4 separate regions of the Homo sapiens genome follow, and all the other regions are linked to region 3. Evidence: promoter capture Hi-C in 16 types of primary human blood cells and fetal thymus (Javierre and others, 2016). All regions are on one chromosome and are shown on one strand. Each heading gives the region's core, a stretch centred on a gene start or on the middle of the fragment in contact. The rest is flanking DNA. Distances are from core to core; before and after follow the strand shown. Region 1 overlaps FBXO6 (F-box protein 6). Region 2 has its middle 22 kb from the start of FBXO2. Region 3 holds the start of TARDBP (TAR DNA binding protein). Region 4 holds the start of C1orf167 (chromosome 1 open reading frame 167).

Region 1 (2,799 bases), core at 23-2,522, 660 kb after region 3:
AGAAGAATGGCGTGAACCCGGAAGGCAGAGCTTGCAGTGAGCCGAGATCACGCCACTGCACTCCAGCCTGGGTGACAGAGCGAGACTCTGGCTCATAAAATAATAATAATAATAAATAAATAAAAAATAAATGTTTTCAGTAAAACCAGCCTGGGGTTGGTTTTAGGAGTGGGGAGAGGGGGTCCCTGGCATTTTGGTGGAGAAGCAGCCCCTCTCCCAGGTTACCCTGGCCATACCTGTCCCTCCCACTCCAGTTAATGATGGCTCAGCTCAGCCCAGCCCTTGGGGCCCCTTTATTGAAACAACTCACAGCACAGTATTTGAGACAGACAGTGTTGGCCGGCGGAACCCCAGGAGGCTGAGAAGTCGAGGTTGCGGCATCCCTCACTGCCCTCCTGGGGGAGGCATCCTCCAAGCAGACCTGAGCGGCCCCGGGCTGGGGCGGGCGATCCACACACAGAGGCGATAAGAGCACTTGGAATCAGGGCAGCCATGCAGCACTGCCCTAGGCGGGGATCCCCCAAAGTCTGACAGTTTGGGCATCAGTGGGGTGGCAGGTGCCCCCTCAGCTGCCTTTATGAGCGCGCTCTTCCACGTAAAGCTGCATCTGACGGACACAAGCAAACAGCCACAGTCAGCAAGACAGCCAGGGCATCCCTGCTGGAGGACACAGAAGCCCCTGGTGGGCAGACCTCCACCACAGGTGGGGCCTCGTGGCCATAGCCATGGTGGAGAAGAGTAGAGATGGGAGGAGCCCTCCACCAGGCACTCCCCCGTTCTCTCCCGCAAGCCCTCTAGTAAGGCCTCAGCACCGGGCCTCACTTCGTTAAGCAGCCCCTAAATAAAGCTTCCCGGGTCCCCACGAAGCTCACCTTTAAAATGTCCGACGTCATGGTTTTTAGTGGTATCAGCCGGGGGTCATGCATGTGGACATCCTGCTCATCCGCCAGGATCCAGGGGAAATCCTAGGGAGGAGACAAAGGTCAGGGGGGTGACGGGGCTGGGCCCTGGCCTGCCCTCACTTTGCTGTCCCTCCCACTCCAGACCAGGGGCCTCCAACCTGAGCCTCAGAATCACTAGGAAGCTGTTGGTGATGCAGACCCCAGGACCGCCCCCATCCCCCACAGAGGCCAAGTCCATAGAACCCAAGTGACGAACAGGCTCCAGGCACCAACGCTGAACCTGGTGGGCTAGGACCCCTCCCTGGAGAGCCCCCACTTCAGAAGAGCCAGGATGAGCTGGGGGCCCCAGTAGGTGGCTCCACCTGGGCTCCTCACTGCCCCAAGTGCCCAGATGGAGCAGTGGACAGGCCTGAGGACCTGCTGGGTGCCAGGCGCTGCCACACCAATGTAATGGGTGGCTGGCCACAGGCAGTGCCCCTGCCCGCCTGGAACTGCGACATCACGTTTCTAGAGCCTGCGCCCAGACCCAGACCCATCTCATCTCACCTTGATGACCTGGATCTTCTCCATGTTGCGAGTGGCGGCTTCTCTCGTGTGCACCAGGACTGTGAAGGTACAGCCTGGAGAGGCAAGAGGTTGGTGGAGGCTCCCCCACCGCCCTGGTGCCAGCCACTGGGCCCAGCCTCTTCCCACTTCCCTTGCTGGCTCAGCAGCACCCCCAGAGCAGATGGCAAAGCAAGTGCTAAGAAAAGCCCCAGTCAATAGGGAGATGGAAGCCAGGTAGAATCAATCAGGGAAGCTTCCCAGAGGAGGTGGACTCTCAGGGTTAGGAAGAGATGAGTCTCAGAACAGCCAAACATGGACCTGGGAACACAGACCAACCCGAGATAACCATGGAAATGCCAAGGGAAGAGAGGGTGGGGAGTGGACACACCTGGGGGGTTGTGGTCCAGGACGGCATCGCACACGCTGATCTTCAGGATGAAGGCCCGGAGCAGCTGCTCCACATGAGACAACAGCGAGTCTGAGCTGGGAGTGAGAGGAGGTCTTCCCATCACACTGGCGCCCTCCCCTCCACCACAGGCATCAAGCCTGGATGCAGACCTGGGGTACAAGACCCCCTCCAGTGCCTGTGAGAGTGCTGCATGCCTAGGACCCAGCTCCCTATCCGGTCCACACAATTAAACCAGCAAGGGAGTTTAAAAGAAATGCCCAGCCCCACCCCAGATAAAGTCAGAATTCGGCGGGGGGTAGGGGACAGGGGAGGTAGGGGCAGCCTGAGGAGGCCTCCCTAGGTGGTTTTAATGTGCAGCCAGGACCCAGAACCAGGACACCAAGCCAGGAGGGGAAAGGGCTTGCCTAAGGCCACACAGGCCGTGGGGACAGGTTGGTGCCAGATTCCAGTGCCCTGACCTCACCATTGGAAGCATGCAGTTGACCAACTAACGCATGTGCCAGAGGTCAACTTCGAGTTGACTGGACACTTGCCTGGGGAGTCAGAAAACTGCTTCTGTGTCCTGGGCTCTGCCCCCACCCAGGTGACCCTGGGTAGCTCATGTCATCTCTCTGGACCCATCTCAGCTGCTCACAGGCTGTCCCCTTGTCATGCTGGTGCTTCTTGCCCTTTCTCCTCCCAGGCCTTTACCAAGGTATTCAAGGGCCGCCTTAAAGGGGTGGGTGTGTTGCCAGAGACACACCTGATGCCAGCTAGTGGGCGAGGGGCAGGGGCAGCCCACCTGATGGACAGCAGTGGAGGCTGGGTGATCTCAAAGACGAATTTCTCCACTGGGCGGTGCTCTTTATCCAAAATCACCACCACCACTTTCTCCACATCATTCTGCAAAGAGAGGAACCCCCACTGCAGAGCCAGGCACCCCACCCCGACTACACCACCCTG
Region 2 (2,865 bases), core at 54-2,553, 620 kb after region 3:
AATAAAGGCATGAAGAAACGGTTACAAACAGAACAGGCACGGGCGTGCATTTTTCATCTGTTTCTCTGGCTCGTTATGTTCCTAATCTTTCCAAGAATGCACCAGCACTTTTCATCATGGCAGCAATAGAATTCACTGGGTCACACTAATTTCTACTCTCTTGCTTCAAGCACTGCTTGGGCTTGGGACTTTTTCTTCCTCCAACTGTCAAGATGACACTACCCTGAAATCCTCTTGCTAGCTCCAGATGGTGGGCGTCACATGCAAGATGACTCCTGTGCCTGCTGACCTCCAGGACAGTAGAAAGTCTTTCTGCATCCCCAGCAGGCCCCATACGACAGCCCTCATGGTCAGAATTCCAGATGCTGGGGTGGGCAAGAGGACACTCCGGGGGGAAGGGAGCCTTCTCTGTTGCCTTAAAACCTCATGGAAGAGTGAGCTCAGGGGACTAGTGCCTACAGGGCTTTGCAGAGAAAGTAAACATGAACTTGGTAAGAGTTAAGAGCCCAGTTCTAAGTTCTCCCCAAGGTCAGCAGGATACAGCAGCACCAATCCCACTGCCTGCCACTCCGGCAAGTCTTTCTCCTAATTATATCTGAATTATGCAAATCAATACCAATGTCAGTATATGATTTCCTCTAACAAGTTGAGAACATGCAAGAAGTGAAGACCTGGGGAGACGGAAAGCATCTAATTAGGAGCGAGTTTCTGTGTTTTTCTTTTGGTTGAGGGAATAAATGGCTGCATGACAACCCCAGAGAAGACCAGGTAAAGGATGGAGCAGGACAGAGAGTGGAAAGAACACGAAGATGGGCTGTGGGCAGGGGGCAGGGAGATTGGGGCCATGCTGAGAGCGTGATGGGTGCAGCATCAGATGCAGAGCAAAAATGTGATCTTGGCAGCTCTCTTTCCACCAAGCAGTTAAAAATGCCCCAACACTGGAAGTTGGGGGCCCAGTAACACTGAGTAGGCACAGACTGTTACTGAGGACATGGGCTCAGAGAGAGAGAGAAAGTGGAAGGAATGAAGGAAGGAAGGAAGGAAGGAAGGAAGAAAGAAAGAAAGAAAGAAAGAAAGAAAGAAAGAAAGAAAGAAGGAAGAAAGAAAGAAAGAAAGAGAAAAAGAAAGAAAGAGAAAGGGAGGAAGGGGAAGGGAAGGGAAGGGGAGAGGGAGGGGAGGGAGGGAAGAAGGAAGGAAGGAAGGAAGGAAGGAAGGAAGGAAGGAAGGAAGGAAGGAAGGAAGGAAGGAAAAAGAAAAAGTAGGCCAAGTGTGGTGGCTCACACCTGTAATCCCAGCACTTTGGGAGGCTGAGGTGGGAGGATCACCTTAGGTCAGGAGTTTAAAACCAGCCTGGCCAACATGGCAAAACCTCATCAAAAATTAGCTGGGCGTGGTGGTGCAAGCCTGTAATCCCAGCCATTCAGGAGGCTGAGGCAGGAGAATCGCTTGAACCTGGGAGGCAGAGGTTGCAGTGAGCCAAGACCACTTCATTGCACTCCAGCCTTGGTGACAGAGGGAGACTCCATCTCAAACAAAACAAAACAAAACAAAACAAACAAAAACAAAAACAGAAGGGAGCGAGGGAGGGAGGGAGTGTGGGAAGGAGGGAGGAAGGAAGGAAGGAAGGAAGGAAGGAAGGAAGGAAGGAAGGAAGGAAGGAAGGAAGGAAGGAAGGAAAAGGAAGTTACAGCTGTCTTATGCTGGGCCTTTGCTGTGTGCCCCTACTAAGCACTGCACCTCCACGATCTCATTTAATCCTCAACACTCTGAGTTAGGTATGATTAGGACCCCATTTCAGAGATGAAGACAGTGAGGGCAGGAGGTGAAATGTTTGCTATTTACATAGGCTGTAAGTAGCAAAGCTGGGGCACAAACCATGGTATCCAACTGCACCTCACTGCCCCATTAAGTGCAATTGGGGGATTACAGACAGACAGAGCACAGAGAGCCGGCAGGGAGTTGTCTATGGTGGAGAGGGGGAGAGAGGATAAAGACTCCCCCCTTTAAGCTCTGGGGGTCTTGGCAAAAGGATCCCCCCTCTTGAAAGCCTCTAGTGCATGAAAGAAGCACCAGGGCCTGAGGTCCAGGAACGGGAAGTTCATCTGGGTGGGGGTTAGCTTAGCTCCCTTTGGATCACTTTGTTATGGCATCTCCTCCCTGGGTAGGGATAGAACACACCCGATGAGCCCTTTATGTGTTCAATGAACAAATATTCTCCAAGCAGAGGGCCCTGAATGTGGCATTATAGCATAGTGGTTAAGAAGCTGGAATCTGGAGACAGGCTACCTCCGTCCACTCCCAGCTCTGCCACTGGTAGCCATTTGGCTTGTGACAAGTCACCCTCCATGCCTCAGTTTCTTCATCTCAAAAATGGGACTAGGCTGGTTGTGGTGGCTCATGCTTGTAATCCCAGCACTTTGGGAGGCTGCGGCGGGCAGATCACTTGAGGTCAGGAGTTCGAGACCAGCCTGGCCAACACGGCGAAACCCCATCTCTACTAAAAATACAAAAATTACAACCGGGCATCGTGGTGCACACCTGTAATCCCAGCTACTCGGGAGGCTGAGGCAGGAGAATCTCTTGAACCCAGGAGGGGGAGATTGCAGTGAGCCAAGATCGCACCATTGCTCTCCAGCCTAGGTGACAGAGTGAGACTCCATTTTTTTTTTTTTTTTAACTTTTTGAGACAGAGTCTTGCTCTGTTTATTTTACTTTTTGAGACAGAGTCTCACTCTGTTGCCCAGGCTGGAGTGCAGTGGCACTATCCCGGCTCACTGCAACCTCCACTTCCCGAGTTCAAGTGATCCTCCTGCCTCAGCCTCCCGAGTAGCTGAGATTACAGGCGCATGTCACCAAGCCAAGCTA
Region 3 (2,994 bases), core at 397-2,896:
GGCCGGGCGTGGTGGCACTTTGGGAGGCCGAGGTGGGCGGATCACCTGAGGTCAGGAGTTTGAGACCAGCCTGGCCAACAGGGGTTAAAAATACAAAAATTAGCCGGGCATGGTGGTGCATGCCTGTAGACCCAACTACTCAGGAGGCTGAGGCAGGAGAATTGCTTGAACCGGGGAGGCGGAGGTTGCAGTGAGCTGAGATTGTGCCACTGCACTCCACCTTAGGCAACAGAGGGAGTCTGAAAAAAAGGAAGAGAAAAGAAAGAGAGAGAGAGAGAAAGAGAGAGAGGTAGGGAGGAAGGAAGGTGGGAAGGGAGGGAAGGGGGGGAAAGGGAGGGAAGGGAGGAAAGGAAGGGAAGGAAAGGAAAGAAAGGAAAGAAAAGATAGAAAAGAAAGGTGGCTCGTGCCTGTAATCCCAGCACTTTGGGGAGCTGAGGCAGGCGGATCACTTGAGGCCATGAGTTCGAGATCAGCCTGGCCAACATGGCCAAACCCTGTCTCTACTAAAAATACAAAAATTAGCCGGGCATGGTGTCTTTGCACGCCTATAATCCCAGCTATCCCTTGAACCTAGGAGTTGGAAGTGGCAGTGAGCTGCAGATTGCGCCACTGCACTCCAGCCTGGGGGACAAGAGCGAGACTCCGTCTCAAAAAAAAAAAAAAAAAAAGTGAAACAAAAAGTGTGCCTTAAAATAGATGAAGTACTGTATTATTATTATTATTAAAGGGCTGGAGCCAGAACAAGTTAGCATTTTGTGCCTCGAGATTCAAATCCCAGGTCTACCATTTATTCCTTGGGTGACATTTTTTTGGGGGGAGGGGCTGGAGGACAGGGTCTCACTCTGTCGCCTAGACTGGAGTGAAGTGGCGCGATCTCGGCTCACCGCAACCTCCGCCTACCGCGTTCAAGCAATTCTCCTGCTTCAGGCTCCCGAGTAGATGGGACTACAGGCGCGCGCCACTACCGCCCGGCTAATCCTTGCGTCACTTTAAGCAAGACACTTGATCTCTCTGTGCCTCAGTTTCCTCACCCGCAGAATGAATATCAATAGCTCCTGCTACACAAAACTGTTTGGGCTATTAAATATGTGAATACTCAGAAAGTACCTGGCACAAAGTAGCCTTATCATTGCTATTATTTAGAACAAAGTTATTGTTTCCAGGTTTGGAGGTGGGCTGGCGGAGGGAGGAGAAGACGCACTAGGTTGCCTTTCAGAAAAGGGGTCCAGGCCTTATCCTGCCTCCCAGGTGGACTCGGCCCGGGATCCCGAGCCCCGCCCCCTCCAGGCCCCGCCCCGCCCCGCCCTCGCTGGCCGAGACTCTGTGCTACTCTCGCGCGCTTTGAAAGTGCGCGAGCTCCGACCGAGACCTGGGCCGGCGGTTGGTCGGCCGAAACCATCTGCTACGTTACGTGGGGGGAGGTCAGCTCCTATACAGCCACACTTTTTTCAATCTTCAGCTTTTCAGGCCTAGGTCCTGGTTTTATTTTAGCTTTCAGAGCTTCTCTGTAGGCTTGAATTTCCAGGAGGCAGCCCGAGTCCCTGGGGAGAGGGTCATCGTGGCTCTCGTCGGTGCCTTCCACCTCTGGACAGGCAACCGGTGGGAGAGGACGCCGGTGGGCGGGGGGAGGAGGCGGCCCTAGCGCCATTTTGTGGGAGCGAAGCGGTGGCTGGGCTGCGCTTGGGTCCGTCGCTGCTTCGGTGTCCCTGTCGGGCTTCCCAGCAGCGGCCTAGCGGGTGAGTCGCGGAGCCTTCTCACTGAGGACGCCGTAGGTGCCTCGGCTTCTGCATTGGGGCGGCCCGAGGCAGACGCAGCGGCTTCGGACCCTGCCCCGGGAAGTCAGCCGTGAGACCGGGCCTAGTCCTGCCCGAGCGGGCTCGCGCGGGAGCGTCGTTAGGTCCTGGCACGGGGAGGCCGGTGGCGCCGAAACGGGGGGCCGGGCCCGCGGTGCCGCGTAGCCTGAGGCGGAGGTTGGCCCCGGACCCGGACAGTGCCGGAGCCTTCGGTACTTTGTACTTCGAGGGACGCTGCCAGCTTGGGCCTGGTGCTCCTGCGCCCCACCCCGGGCCGCGCCGAGAAACTCCTCCCTCGGCTGGCACGCGCGGGCTTCTGGGAGGCGACGGCCGGCACCGCCAGGACCTGTCGCCGCGGGCCTTGGGGCTCGGGCTCGCAGAGCCCCCGGAAGCCCCAAAATGAGGAACAGAGGGAAACTTTTCTCCTGTTCTTTACACCTGGTTCACTGCCCATATTCAGTCTTCAGGTTCAGCTGATGGATCGCTTGCTTAGGAAAATCGACTGGGACCTATCACGCCCATGCCTCAGCCAGTTAGGCTCCTCCTCTGCCTTCAGGATTACTTAACGACTAACCCGATTGTCATAAAATAGCTACTGTTTATTGTTCCCTTGCATACCCTAGCTTGTAACCAGCAAGCCACGTTGGACTCACAGTTACAGTTTCAGTACCTGACGCATCATAAGCCTTCAGGGAAAGTTTTTTGAATGAATGAACTGGCGAGGCATCACATTTTGATAGGAAATCACTACCCTTACCTTCACCTCGTCATTTTTCAGGGATAACCAATGCATATACGAATCCAGACAAGCATTTTTCTGGAAGTCAGAACTCTGACATGGTTTGGGTATTATCATTATAAGGAAACAGTTATTCTGACATGAATGTTGTTCATTCATATCTCTTTTCTCTTTAGGAAAAGTAAAAGATGTCTGAATATATTCGGGTAACCGAAGATGAGAACGATGAGCCCATTGAAATACCATCGGAAGACGATGGGACGGTGCTGCTCTCCACGGTTACAGCCCAGTTTCCAGGGGCGTGTGGGCTTCGCTACAGGAATCCAGTGTCTCAGTGTATGAGAGGTGTCCGGCTGGTAGAAGGAATTCTGCATGCCCCAGATGCTGGCTGGGGAAATCTGGTGTATGTTGTCAACTATCCAAAAGGTTTGTTACCATTTGGTTTTTGTAATCATGCTGAAG
Region 4 (2,987 bases), core at 247-2,746, 750 kb after region 3:
GAGATGGGATTTTGCCATGTTGGCCAGGCTGGTCTTGAACTCCTGACCTCAAGTGATCCGGCTGCCTCGGCCTCCCAAAGTGCTGGGATTACAGGCATGAGCCACCACATCCAGCCTTTTCTTTTCTTTTCTTTTTTTCTTTTTTTTTTTTTTTTTTTTTTGAGACAGAGTCTTGGTCTGTTGCTCAGGCTGGAGTGCAATGGCAGGATCTTGGCTCTCTGCAACCCTTGCCTCCCAGGTTCAAGTGATTCTCCTGCCTCAGCCTCCTGAGTAGCTGGGATTACAGGTGCCCGCCACCATGCCCGGCTAATTTTTGTATTTTTAGTAGAGACAGGGTTTCACCATGTTGGCCAGGCTGGTCTTGAACTCCTGATCTTGTGATCCGTCCACCTCAGCCTCCCAAAGTGCTGGGATTACAGGTGTGAGCCACTGTGCCTAGCCTTTCTTTCTTTCTTTCTTTTAACAAGAAATTTGTTATAGTTTTATTTTCCTTTGCATTTGCAAAATACTTAGGACCAACATGAAAAAGAAATACCTTCTATGGGGAAAAAAATGGCATTAAAAAGGAAGATGGGAAGGCTGAAAGGGATTTGTGCCTTAGTTGCAAGGAGCTGCAGCATCTCTGGTCCAAGGAATCAAAAAGATATTGGGAAGATATAACAGGAGGAAGAAGAATGTGAATTTACTGAGGGAGAGGGCCCCAAAGTGGGCCTTGAGGGGGAACTGGAGGCCCCGGAGTGGGTCTGGGTGGAGGGAGAGTCCCCCCCGGAAGCCATAGGGTGGGTGTTGGGGAGGGCCAGTGTATCCATGAGGCAGCATCGGTGGAGGAGGTCCACACATACCATGGAGGCATAGGACGTGAGTGACCCATGGGAGATCCAGACCGAGACCCCTTGGGGGACATGCTCATTGGAGGAGGTCCAGGATGAGGCATTCCAGGTGGTGATCAGGGTGGTGGCTGCCCCCCAGATCCTGGGGTCCCATCACGGGTGTGTCCTCAGCCATGAGGGCCATGGTTTGCCAGCTGCATCTGAGACATCCCTGGATGGGACATCGCACCTATTGGGAACGGGTGAGGATGTGAGTGTCCATGACCCGGATGTCCTGCCCCTGGGGTTCCTACCAGTGGGAGCCGGGGGCATGTCCTGCAGCCCCAAGAGGCATAGGTGGTGGGGACATGGCTGGGGGTATCCCAGATGTGCGGGGGCTCCAGGAGGCAGCTCTAGGTGCGGGAAGGAGCCAAGAGGAGGCACGCCTGGTGGAGGAAGCCCAGACCCCAGTGATGCTGCCACAGGATTCGGGGCAGAGGGTGGAGGAGGTTCCCGGGGACCTGATGGCCAAGAGAATGTCGCTCATCTTGCACGTGCAAAAGTTGCCCTGGGACCACGTGCCTTGCCTGCGGAGGACCCGGCAAAACCTGTACCAGGACGTCGGTGGCCACGCCCACGGCTCAGGGCTGGGCGGGGCCAAGCGCGGGGCAGCACGCTCTGCTCTCCGACGTCCCCTCCCGCCCGCGACCTGCCGACCTGCGGGGATCGTTAGCGGTCCCAGCCCCCGTCTAGATTCAAATCCGACTGGGTGAAGGAGGACCCGAGGAGGACCCACGCACGTGAGGGCAGATCCATGAGGGCAGGAAACTGACCTCAGACTCTTTTGGTGGCAAGAGGAGGGAGGCTGTGAGCCCCCTTAAGTGGACAGGGGTGGGGGTGGAGTGGGAGGGGGGAGTCTGAGGGAGACGGACGAGGAGCGGAGAAATGGACCGAAGAGCTCCGGCGTGAGGGGCAGGGGTGCAGGAAGGTCTCCTGTGGATTGAGCGGCCTCAAGTCAACTTGGGCAAGAGGGGATGGTGGGGTGTTCTTGGTTAGGAGTCTGCGCTGTGGAGCCAGCCCTGGGGTGCTCCCTCTGAGGCCTTGGGTGGGACAGGCCCTTCTAAGCTCCTGTCCTCATTTCTAAAACAGGGAACCTAAGTCCCAGGGCTGCAGTGCAGATTAAATGGCAGGACGCCTGCTGAAGGCTGCAAGGTGCCTAGCACGGTTGTCATTTATTCAATGTGCATTTACAAGCCCCTGCTGGGGGTCAGGCATTGTTCTATGGGCTGCAAATCCAGCAGGGAAACAAACAAACAAAAAAAACCAGCCTGCCCTCGTGTGGCTCCTAGGCCACTGGAGGGAGAAATACACTAATTTCTTCACTATGTTAGGTGGCCGCAAGTGCAGGGCAAAGAGAGTGAGGAGAGGCCAGGTTGCTGCAGTTGGAGAGACAGTGGGCAGGGAGGGCTCACTGTGATGTGGGAGGCAAGACTTGAAGGCAGAGGGGACAGCAGCACAGAGGCGCTGAGGTGAGGTCGTGTGTGCCATTTGGAGGAGCAGCCAGGGGGCTGGTGTGTGTGGAGGACAGTGGGCAAGGGGAAGAGGAATTGGGGAGGACCATAACTGGCAGCCAGATTTTAAAGACTTTGCGGGGCTGGGTGTGGTGGCTCACGCCTGTAATCCCAGCACTTTGGGAGGCCGAGGCGGGCCAATCACCTGAGGTCAGGAGTTCGAGACCATCCTGGCCATCATGGTGAAACCCTGTCTCTACCAAAAAATAGAAAAATTAGTCTGGCGTGGTGGCATGTGCCTGTGGTTCCAGCTTGTTAGAGGCTGAGGTGGGAGGATCCCTTGAGCCCAGGGAGGCAGGCGGAGGTTGCAGTGAGCCGGGATCACGCCATTGTACCAGCCTGGGTGGCAAAGTGAGACTCCGGCTCAAAAAAAAAAAAAAAAAGGTTTTGCAGCCTAAGGTATCTTGCAGCTATTGAGCTCTGCTATTGCAGCTGGAAAGCAGACAGTCTGTAAACAAATGGGCTTTGTTTCAATATAACTTTATTCACATAATAGACCACTGGCCCAGGCAGTAATTTGCTAACCTCTGGCCTACAGCCTTGAAGGCTCACGGGGCATTGAGGGGGCTGGAGAGCTTCTGTGGCATTAGAGTTGAGGCAGGGCATG

What was found. The method cuts DNA at HindIII sites, captures the fragments that hold promoters and counts their contacts. A CHiCAGO score of 5 or more calls a contact.
Region 1: a fragment that was not itself captured here is called in contact with the fragment with the promoter of TARDBP in region 3 in 2 of 17 cell types (naive B cells and fetal thymus); the score reaches 5.4 in naive B cells.
Region 2: a contact is called between a fragment that was not itself captured here and the fragment with the promoter of TARDBP in region 3, in 1 of 17 cell types (erythroblasts). The highest score is 5.7, in erythroblasts.
Region 4: a contact is called between the fragment with the promoter of C1orf167 here and the fragment with the promoter of TARDBP in region 3, in 3 of 17 cell types (fetal thymus, erythroblasts and total B cells). The highest score is 7.3, in fetal thymus.

Annotation. Positions count from the first base shown.
Region 1 is chr1:11,674,210-11,677,008 of GRCh38, forward strand. FBXO6 (F-box protein 6) reads left to right here. Exons shown (of 6, transcript NM_018438.6): 6 at 1-145. MAD2L2 (mitotic arrest deficient 2 like 2) reads right to left here. Exons shown (of 9, transcript NM_006341.4): 5 at 2,639-2,739; 6 at 1,837-1,931; 7 at 1,449-1,522; 8 at 873-965; 9 at 271-607. The coding sequence ends at 566. Among named protein-coding and RNA genes, the nearest start is that of MAD2L2, 5.5 kb to the right of the region's middle. The HindIII fragment of the contact is 854 bases long and covers 846-1,699 here.
Region 2 is chr1:11,630,848-11,633,712 of GRCh38, forward strand. No RefSeq gene overlaps it. Among named protein-coding and RNA genes, the nearest start is that of FBXO2, 22 kb to the right of the region's middle. The HindIII fragment of the contact is 9,749 bases long and covers 1-2,865 here.
Region 3 is chr1:11,011,008-11,014,001 of GRCh38, forward strand. TARDBP (TAR DNA binding protein) reads left to right here and starts at 1,647. Exons shown (of 6, transcript NM_007375.4): 1 at 1,647-1,736; 2 at 2,709-2,958. The coding sequence starts at 2,721. RefSeq lists silencers at 1,080-1,309, 2,719-2,965 and enhancers at 1,350-1,679, 1,390-2,357. The HindIII fragment of the contact is 20,579 bases long and covers 1-2,994 here.
Region 4 is chr1:11,760,697-11,763,683 of GRCh38, forward strand. C1orf167 (chromosome 1 open reading frame 167) reads left to right here and starts at 1,497. Exons shown (of 21, transcript NM_001010881.2): 1 at 1,497-1,609. It also overlaps the pseudogene LOC101060126. The HindIII fragment of the contact is 5,648 bases long and covers 1-2,987 here.